Regions from separate parts of the Homo sapiens genome. Here regions 1 and 2 are each linked to region 3. The links are contacts of gene promoters, found by promoter capture Hi-C in human tissues and cell types (Jung and others, 2019). All regions are on one chromosome and are shown on one strand. Each heading gives the region's core, a stretch centred on a gene start or on the middle of the fragment in contact. The rest is flanking DNA. Distances are from core to core; before and after follow the strand shown.

Evidence for each region. The method cuts DNA at HindIII sites, captures the fragments that hold promoters and counts their contacts. A contact is called where the count stands out against the background at its distance.
Region 1: a fragment that was not itself captured here is called in contact with the fragment with the promoter of CLVS2 in region 3 in 2 of the 25 tissues and cell types used here (H1 embryonic stem cells and dorsolateral prefrontal cortex).
Region 2: a contact is called between a fragment that was not itself captured here and the fragment with the promoter of CLVS2 in region 3, in 2 of the 25 tissues and cell types used here (hippocampus and thymus).

Annotation. Positions count from the first base shown.
Region 1 is chr6:123,322,683-123,325,583 of GRCh38, reverse strand. All of the region lies in intron 23 of TRDN (triadin), which reads left to right. The region is part of intron 1 of LOC124901393 (a long non-coding RNA gene); the gene reads right to left. Among named protein-coding and RNA genes, the nearest start is that of TRDN-AS1, 120 kb to the left of the region's middle. The HindIII fragment of the contact is 8,405 bases long and covers 1-2,901 here.
Region 2 is chr6:123,395,099-123,398,257 of GRCh38, reverse strand. The region is part of intron 12 of TRDN (triadin); the gene reads left to right. Among named protein-coding and RNA genes, the nearest start is that of TRDN-AS1, 43 kb to the left of the region's middle. The HindIII fragment of the contact is 5,436 bases long and covers 1-3,159 here.
Region 3 is chr6:122,994,397-122,997,601 of GRCh38, reverse strand. It overlaps CLVS2 (clavesin 2), which reads right to left and starts at 1,367. Exons shown (of 6, transcript NM_001010852.4): 1 at 856-1,367; 2 at 1-383. LOC124901392 (a long non-coding RNA gene) reads left to right here and starts at 2,682. Exons shown (of 2, transcript XR_007059733.1): 1 at 2,682-3,020; 2 at 3,116-3,205. The HindIII fragment of the contact is 5,962 bases long and covers 1-3,205 here.

The DNA of each region.
Region 1 (2,901 bases), core at 41-2,540, 330 kb before region 3:
ACTCTAAGAAGATTCAATTAATCTATATATTTTATTCACTACTCTAAATTTTTAAAATGTTCCAATAGTATTGCAATTCACATATGTCATCTTCACTCATGTCATTGTCCTCCTCTACGAAATATTAGAACTTTCAGTAAAATATTTTCATAGTCTAATACTGGGTCTAGAATATTTGGTTTAGTAATCAACATTAGTATTTTAATTTTTCTGTACTTTTTCTGAGTTTCTTGGTGCCTAGTCTCTAATATAAATTCTTAGCATGATTTAATTCTGCCCTGAAGTATTTTAAGGAGAAATACTACAACTGTCATGTTAACAGTGAAGAAATTGATGCCCAAAGATTAAATGATTAGCCAAGATTTTTATGCTGAATTAGCTACTTAGTATCAGACTTAATAACCACTAAAAATAATCTTATTTTTCTTTTTTTCAATATTGGAATATATTAGCAAAACTTATCCTAACACATAGTCAAAATTTTTGTCTTTGTAATAATTTTATTGTGTTTGCTAGGCATGAAGGAAGATTACAGATAATCTGTTGATTAATAAAAAAGACCAATCAGGATTCTAAAGAATAAAATCTTAGAAGATGCCTTTAAAATCCATGATTACTCATTTTCTGAAGAATTGTTAAAGTGAAAGTTGGACCCATAACAGTAGCACTTTCACTTTAAGCAGCAATTTACAGCCTAACACATTTCTTGTTATGTCCATTATGCCAAAATGTCAAGTTGATAGGATGGAAAGAGGTCATGTATTATTTTCAAAAGTAGTTGAGGGGGCCAGGATTTTCTCTGCAAGCATTAGCTATACAAAAGTATTGTATCCAAGCACTGAGAATTTTTATAATCTTCATCCAAAATGTTAATATACAGCAACATGTGTACAGCTGTATGTAGGTGAAATACACGTGCAACTCTAAGTGTAGAGCTCCAATATTCATTCCTTGGTATTTTTTAAATATCAGCCCTCATTCAAAAGGCAGAATTGAATGAAAGAATGGGTCACAATCTCACTGCAACCTGTCTTATCACTCCAAGCTATTTTATGCATATGTTCTAATATGCTTCTCTCCTTGAAGGTTTTTTTGTTTTATTTTGTTTCGTTTTGTTTTTTGTTTTTTCTTTTCAGAGATGAGGTCTTGCTCTGTTGCTCAGGCTGGCCTCAAACTCCTGGGCTCAAGAGCTCCTCCTGCCTCAGCCTCCTGAGTACCTGGAATTATAAGCATGCACCACACACCTGGCTTCTGTCCATTAACATTTTAAAAAATATATTATTTCTACTGTAAGTCTTCTATTATTTTTACATTTTTGAACAAGATATAAGATGATTCATACTTAAACCTATGACATTTTATCTACTTAATTGATTATTCTTACTTCAAATTCAAGAAAATCGATACTGGTACCCAGAAAAACAAGCAAGAGTCTAGTGACTTCCCCTCAGTAAAGGAAAACTAAGGAATGCCTGCTTGTTTACCTTGGTAAGTGGCCTTTGCACAACTTTCTGAACTCATTGAATGGTTTAAAGTCAGCAGGCTCATTAGCTGAAATATTTCCAACTCGCCATCTGCCATCTTCAAATAACATCACAGGGCCTGATTCTGACAATTTCTGCAGGACCTACAAATGCATGCAGCCACCTCCAATTATATCTCACCTATTTTAAATGCACACTCTTCACACTGGGAAGCTTCAGGGAAGGAAAGAATAATGAGGAGCATATAAGTAGGCATAAAAGAAAGAACAGATAAAAGCAGAGTGACACTATCAGAAGTGTGGTACATTGCATTTAGCATATACAAAAGACAAAAGACCATGAAAATGAAATGATGACAGAATAAGGCAGGGACAATGTATGCATTTATTCTGTGCTGAAAAGAGAGAATGCCCTGTGGCCCATTTTATGTGTTTAATGTCCACTCAGCAAAGTTTTTCTGTAAGCATCAAACTCCATTGGGAATTTTGCCAAGGAAGGATTGCAGAATCAGGACTTAGGCATAAAGCATTGAGTCATGACTTAAGCGCCTGCATTACAAACTGGAGCCATTTTAGAACTACACCTACAGAAACTTATCAACCATAATTGTTTTTGTTTTGTTTCTGTTGTTGACTTAATGGGTTTGAGAGGTGTGTAAGAGGGACAGAGACAGAGACAGAGAACATGTGTGTGTGGAGGTGTGCTTGTGTGTGTGTCTATGTGTTATGGGAAAAGCAGTGATGTCAGTAGTTTGAGGCTCTTGCTTCCTGAAATAACTAACAATAAACAAATTAGTTCGTGTAGCCACTCTGAATAATTTTACTAGACAGACAAATTAAATATAAATATCTGAAGATAATGCACACCAGGGTTCAACGTCTAGTGAGTCAGTTCTAATGTGTTTTTCCATACATGTAAGGGTTTTGGATAGTGAGACAGGGATTCTGCTTCATATTTTGGTTTAAACACCCTAAAAATGAAGTTAGCATTTTGATTTTCCTGTCATTTTGAAACAGCATTTTAATTTTGTTATATATCCGTAACAATTTTTGAGTGTTCACATAATGTTCTGTGGCTATTCTAGGCAGTGAGGCTCCAAAGATGAAAAGACATATTCCCTGTCCTCAAAGATCTCACAAGACAGTGAAAAAAGGTGGGACAGGCCAAGCGCGGTGGCTTATGCCTATAATCCCAGCACTTTGGGAGGCTGAGGCAGGTGGATCACGAGGTCAGGAGATCAACACCATCCTGGCTAATATGGTGAAACCCCGTCTCTACTAAAAATACAAAAATTAGCTGGGCGTGGTGGTAGGCACCTATAGTCCCAGCTGCTGGGGAGGCTGAGGCAGGAGAATGGCATGAATCCAGGAGGTGGAGGTTGCAGTGAGCCGAGATTGCGCCACTGCACTCCAGCCTG
Region 2 (3,159 bases), core at 353-2,852, 400 kb before region 3:
CGAGGCAGGTGAATCACGAGGTCAGCAGTTCGAGACCAGCCTGACCAACATGGTGAAACCCTGACTTTACTGAAAATAGAAAAAAATTAGCTGGGCGCAGTGGCGGACGCCTGTAATCCCGGCTACTCAGGAGGCTGAGGCAGGAGAATTGCCTGAACTCCGGAGGCGGAGGTTGCAGTGAGCCAAGATCGTGCCACTGCACGCCAGCCTGGGCGACGGAGTGAGACACCATTTCAAAAAGAAATAAAAGAAAATAAGAACAGTCTAAGTTCCTTGTAATATTGATGAAGTAGCAAGAGACAGCTTTAAAGCTGTTTTCATTTCTTTGGAAGATTAATAAAATAAATTTGATTCATAATTTGAATCCTGAAAAAATGTTTATCTCAAACATGCTCTTAAGTAGAATTCCAATATTTTCATTTTTTGTTGTTTGTTTCTCCTCCTATTCTTTTAACAAAATCCATGCAAATTAATTAAAAATTTGCAAATTTGTCTAAATTAGTTAATTTTACAAAATTCCCAATTGCAATGTGGGTTACCATATATTCTACTAAAAATCTAGTTCTAAAATTTAGAGTTAATACACTTTCTGAATAACACATAATCAGTGATCAAAGAGAAAAAGAGATTTTGCGTCATCTTAAAAGTGAAATAGATCCCTGAGCTTAATGTTCCATTTCAAAGCAGTCAATTGGATTTTTTTTCATTTTTATAGTTAGATATTCTGTGCCATTTCTTACTGTTTCATAGAGACAATTTTTCCAGCAGTTTGTTGGGTCTGGAGTTATAAAGTTGAATAAGTGACAATCAATCAGTGATCTCAGAGAATTTATAGGGTAGTAGGAAGGGAAGTTGTACGAGTAAATAATTATATGATTTCACATTGAAATGGAAATCTGTACTGTGGAGGTCAGTGGGCTGGGTATTGTCAATAACCAGGATAAAGTCTGTGTGGTAGGAGCCCACTACCTGCTTTACCATCTGCTGCTACTCATTCTCCTGCCCCTGTCAGTTCCTCTCTCTAATGGCCAGCCACTTCACTGCAGATGGGGGGAGTCTTTCTTATTTATTTTGTTGTTACTATAAGTAAGAGACTTACATGTTATTCAGGTATTTGAATAACATTGTTTATTGTCTCTTTTGAAGTAATAATTGATCTCTACCAACTTATTCTAAAATTAAAACATAATAAATACACTGTTTTTTTTTTCAGAGATGGGAGAATGCTCAAAAACATGTAAGATGTGGGTAGGTTTCTCAGCAATACTATTATTCTTTACCTGCTGTCCATTAGCCAAAGACCAATTCTGGCTGCTGACAGTGTAGCAGTCCATTTGCCACTAAAGTTATGTGAAACCTATTTTTGAAAATGTAATGGATTTGCACTTTACATTAAATGAAGTCAAAATATAAACAGTGTCCTAGAAATGAAAAGTTAATCGTATTAAACTAATATTTAAATCTCTGTGCAAAAATTGGCTCTTTAACAAAATGTTTGCAGACTAATGATATCTTTTCAGTTTTGTAAATCAGGTTGTTCCATATCTGTGGAATCAGAAGACATTGAAACATTTGGCTCATCTGATTCATGACAATTTGTTTATATAAATACCGCATGTTTCAGGGATCTACAAATACTAACTTCTCTGATAATTTCCTGAAAAAACACCCCCAAGTGAATTATGCTGACATTTTAATCTAGGTCCATCCTGTCTCTGATTTAAAAGTCCAAAATACTATTTATCAATTTCAGAATTACTATAATCTTTAGTTGAATATTGTTATGGTCATCTGTTTTTTATTTAAGTCATTGTACTTTATTTCCAAAAACACAGCTATAAACAAAACTATGACAAGATAAAATCATTTGATATGATGAAATTTTCATTAGAATATGTGTAGTGGAGGCAGTACAGATGAAATACTGTAGTAGGTGTTGGAAACGGTGGGCTCATTATCCTGTCTTTTTTATTTTTGTATAGGTTTAGAATTTTCCCTAACAAAAATGTAGTTTCTTTTGTAGTTGGCAGAAATCAAAAGGAGACAGAAAAATTATTTATAATGAAAATTTGTCTGTCTGGATTAATGTGTTTTCAGTAGTACAATATTTGGTGCAGCCTTCTTGTGTTGTACATGTATGGACTCAGGGTCGATTCCTCCCCTAATGTCATGCAATTTTGAAAATGGAAATGCTGTGCAAGAGCAGATGTCAAATCTGATCTTCTTTGCATGTGTCCTCAATAGTTTCAAGGATGATATTTTTGTTGGTTGGATGCAAGCTGGCAGACTTACTGAAAAGGCATTTGGTTTTAAACTGTTAATTTCTATTGAGATGTAGATCATGTAGTAGTTTGTGAACTAATATTTTAGACGGGTGAAAACGCAATTGAGGTTCGTGCAACTGCAATTGCATTTGCACCAACCTCATAAATGAACTTTAAAGCTTAAAATCAGAGAAGGAATAGATGGAGTTATGAGGGACAAACATGATACTGCTATGATCCCGAGATTTTCCTCCATTGAAATCTTTCTTTTGCAGGTAGACATTGTAGAATGACCTCTTTAAAATACACTTTTACCTGGAAACAGTATCTTCAATGCATCAGTGTGCATTTGTGGACTGTTTTCTTTGGCATGTGTTGGACGCGGGACAATGAGGGGCAGGGAAGGCTTAGGGAGGGAACTAAGTCTTAGTAGAAAGAAGAGCCCATAGATAAGGAACCCTAAAACATGCCCAATCTATGTGCACACAGCCCAACCCAGGACAGGCTAAGGTTATTAAAGAGGTAAACCCCATTGAGAGATGACCAGCCTGTTGGGACACTCAAATGGGAAAACTCAGCACTCAGGGGCATGTTTCTGAACCTGACCGCTGAGGGAGAAAGCAGCTGACAGAGAAACCAAACAGTCTGTGGGAGAAGTGATAAGGCCCTAGGAAAAGCACTACATAATTTGCAGGTGTGTGTGACCTCCGTGCTCTAATAGAATCTTAGGTGTGATGAGGTTGTTTAGGATCAGTGATTTAAGAGGATATAAAGAAAAAGGAGAAGATAAGAGGAAAATTGGCTGCAAATTTTTGCAAATATTTCTACAAATTCTAAGGTACTTTACATACTGATATTTTAAAATCTTTTTCTTTAAAATTTAATTACAAATTGC
Region 3 (3,205 bases), core at 118-2,617:
CCCAGCAAAGCTGGGGGGGCCGGGGGGTGTAAACTTCTTCCTCTGCCCCCTAAAATACAACACCCTACTTTGGCTCCCTCTTTCCTTTCCTTTAAAGAGATGTGAACCCCTGAAGGGCTCCGCACTCCTCTTCTTGTCCTTTCTCTTTCCTAACAAATCACCCCTAATTCCACCTAGCACGGGTGTTTCTGATCTTGGTACTGTCCTCTTCTCTTCTCTTCCAAGATGTAACAAAAACAACCCCCACGCACATCTCAGCCCCTGCACTGTGAATGTTCCTGCGGTCCCTGCTGAAGGATACGCCTGCCAGGGGTGGCGATGGAAATTCTGATTAATAATAAGGTAGCTCTTCAGCGCTGAGCTCCAGGGCGGAGAGAGATCATCTTTGCCAGAAAGAAAAAGAGACAGAGAGAAAGAGGGGGGAGAAAGGAGATTATTTCTCCCTGTACTTATTCAAAGACGCTATTTTTAAAAGACAAATTTGTGTGATTTATTTAAGATTATTGTGATCCAATTAGGTGAAGACTCTGCAGATAGCGCACCTTCCCACCACCCCTCTGAGATACACCGTGATCTCATAAGGCACCAGCAGGGGTTCTGGTGGCGTTGGTACCAGCGTGGGCTCCCCCAACCCCACCCCCAACTTCTGCCTTCCTCTAGCCCTTCATTTCCACGGACTTGCCGCGGGGTTGGAGAAAAGGGGGGAGGGGGAGGGAGGGGACCGGGGATATCTCTGGGAATGCACATTTCAAAAACGAAGAGAAGGGGAGGACGTTGTGAAGAATAAAATAAAAATGTCCTTATCTTTTCTATAAAACCCCAAAGCAAGAAAGAAGAAAGAGCAGCCGCTCCTACCAGCAAACCCAGAGGCGGGGTCGCTAAGCAATGCGGCACTCCCTGGCATCCATCAGCCGCGGCTTCAGCAGCGGCGGCGGCGGCGACAGCGGCATCAACTCCTCTGGGCGGGATGGAAGGAGCAGAGAAGAGGGGTGGCGGCGGGGACCCGGGCCGAAGATGCGCTCGGGAGCAGCCGCGGCCACATCGTCCGCGGGCAGCCCGCAGCCTCTCCTAGCAGGAGGGGTGAGGATCGCAGGGCTAGGGCCACCGCTGTCCCAGGTTCTCGCCTGGCCCTGCCATTTTCGCCTTCGGGAGAGAAGGTGGGGAGGAGGACGCGAACGCCTGGATGGAGAAGGCCACTCGGGCGGCCACCGCCTTTGTGAGCCCTCCGGGAGCAGCCGGGGAGGTGGGCGCAGCGGGGCGGCTGCTGCGCGGCGCTGGCCTCTCCTGGGGCTCTCCCGAGCGGTCCGAGTCAGGGTTGCCCCACCGGGCTGCGGCGGCGGCTCCGGCTGCTGCTGCTGAAAGAGGACTCGGCTCAGCCCAACTCCTCTCTAATTATCCCAGCACAGATCTCGCTGCGACGTAAGCACTCACTCAGCTCGCGCGCGCGCTCCGCTCCTTTCCCTGCCTCGTTGGGGTAGGACGGCAATTTGGGTGGCATCGAAATATCCCGAGCCCTAAGTTTAGGCTGCTCTTCGTCCCCACTCCTCAGCAGGCTGCTGAGCGGGCGTCGCCGGGCCAGGCGGGGCAACCATGCTTTCCAGCCTCCCCACGCCCCTCTCTTCGCCCTTTGTGTGCAAGACCCCAGATCAGCCTGGAGAGTAGCTGTTGTAGACGGTAATTCACATTGACACGCATTTTCTCGTTCCTGTAGGAGGCAATTTTGATGTAGAAGGAGTACGGAAACATTCTGTACTTTTCGCATTTGTTGTAGACAGAGATATTTAATTTAGAAAACACCAGAGTGGTTCCAAGACAATGTACTGATGATTAAGCCTCCGGAGGAACTTATATGAATAGTTTTTCAACCAGTCTCCCTGCTAAATTTCTGTTGAAGAGGATGAAAATGAGCACTAGGGTAAATGATAATAAAAACATAATTCTCAAAGGAAGAAAAAAATAGGAACTTCACTCATATCTCATCATAAAGCAAATATTTCTGGAAACACATACCATCCTTCCTTCAGTTGTATGCATCTGTATATGAGAATCATTATAAATAAACAGAAGTCCTTGCGCTTAATATGACTATCTATGGATTTGAGGAAAAGGGATATTTTCTATTTTCAAAACACAGCACATATTACTGAGCGTGTTACTAAGAGCAACTTTTGACTTTATAAACTGTAGAATGGGGTCTTGAATTGAAGTTAATTCAATGCAACTAATATTTACTGAGTTCCACGAGGTGTGGGGCATTTTTCTGCATTCTGTGTATAGGAGGTGGTCTTGAAGATAAGCAAATTTTGTCATTTTCTTATCTTGACATTTCTTATCTTGTCATTTTCAATGTTGATGACTATGAGAACCCTCAAAATACAGGCACACTTGTTTTTGCTCTTCTCATGGCGATGGTGTTGATAAAAAGAAAGAAGGAAAAGGGTTGTATGGTAGAGCTAGAGCATTTATTAATTAAATTAATGCAAATTAATGTAGGAACCCGAATAAGACAATAAATTACACACACACACACACACACACACACAGTCATTATTGTCAAGGAATTTATGTTTTAAATGGGGAAGGCAGAAAATAAACCACTTAAGTGTGTGTATATGTGTGTTATATATATGCACTATATATAAGGTCCTTCTAGGATTTTAAGTGATTATGACTTTCTCAAGCATGCTGAATGCAATGTGAACTGTTAAATTTTTGGTTCTCATTTTAAAACATTTGAAAAAATCATTTTTTCTAATATTTTAGAGGTTGAAGAAAATTTATGTTTCGTATCAACTGTATGAAGAAGTTTTAGTCATCACCAACATGGAGAGACAATTCTCCCTGGATCCGTTGTGTTTCTACCTGTCTTATGACCAAGGCACTAATTGCCCTTTTTTCTAGACTGTCTTCTCAAGGGTATTTGTACAGTAAATAGTCTTGGAAGATATTGGAAGATAGAGATAGTACCTCCATCTGAAACAAAGCCTTGAAAGCTGTGATATCTCTCTCCTGACCAAAAGGTAGGCAAGCTTATTTGAATTCCCTAAACTCAGAGCTATTCTGCTGTAATGCCACCCATTGTTTATGCCAGTATCACTTGATCCTCTTTTCTTAGCTATCTGTGGGAATTAGAGCTCAGGGGACCAGTCAATGCAAGATATGCAGATGCTCATACTGCCCGCTATGCCTGAGTGACAAAATCCTT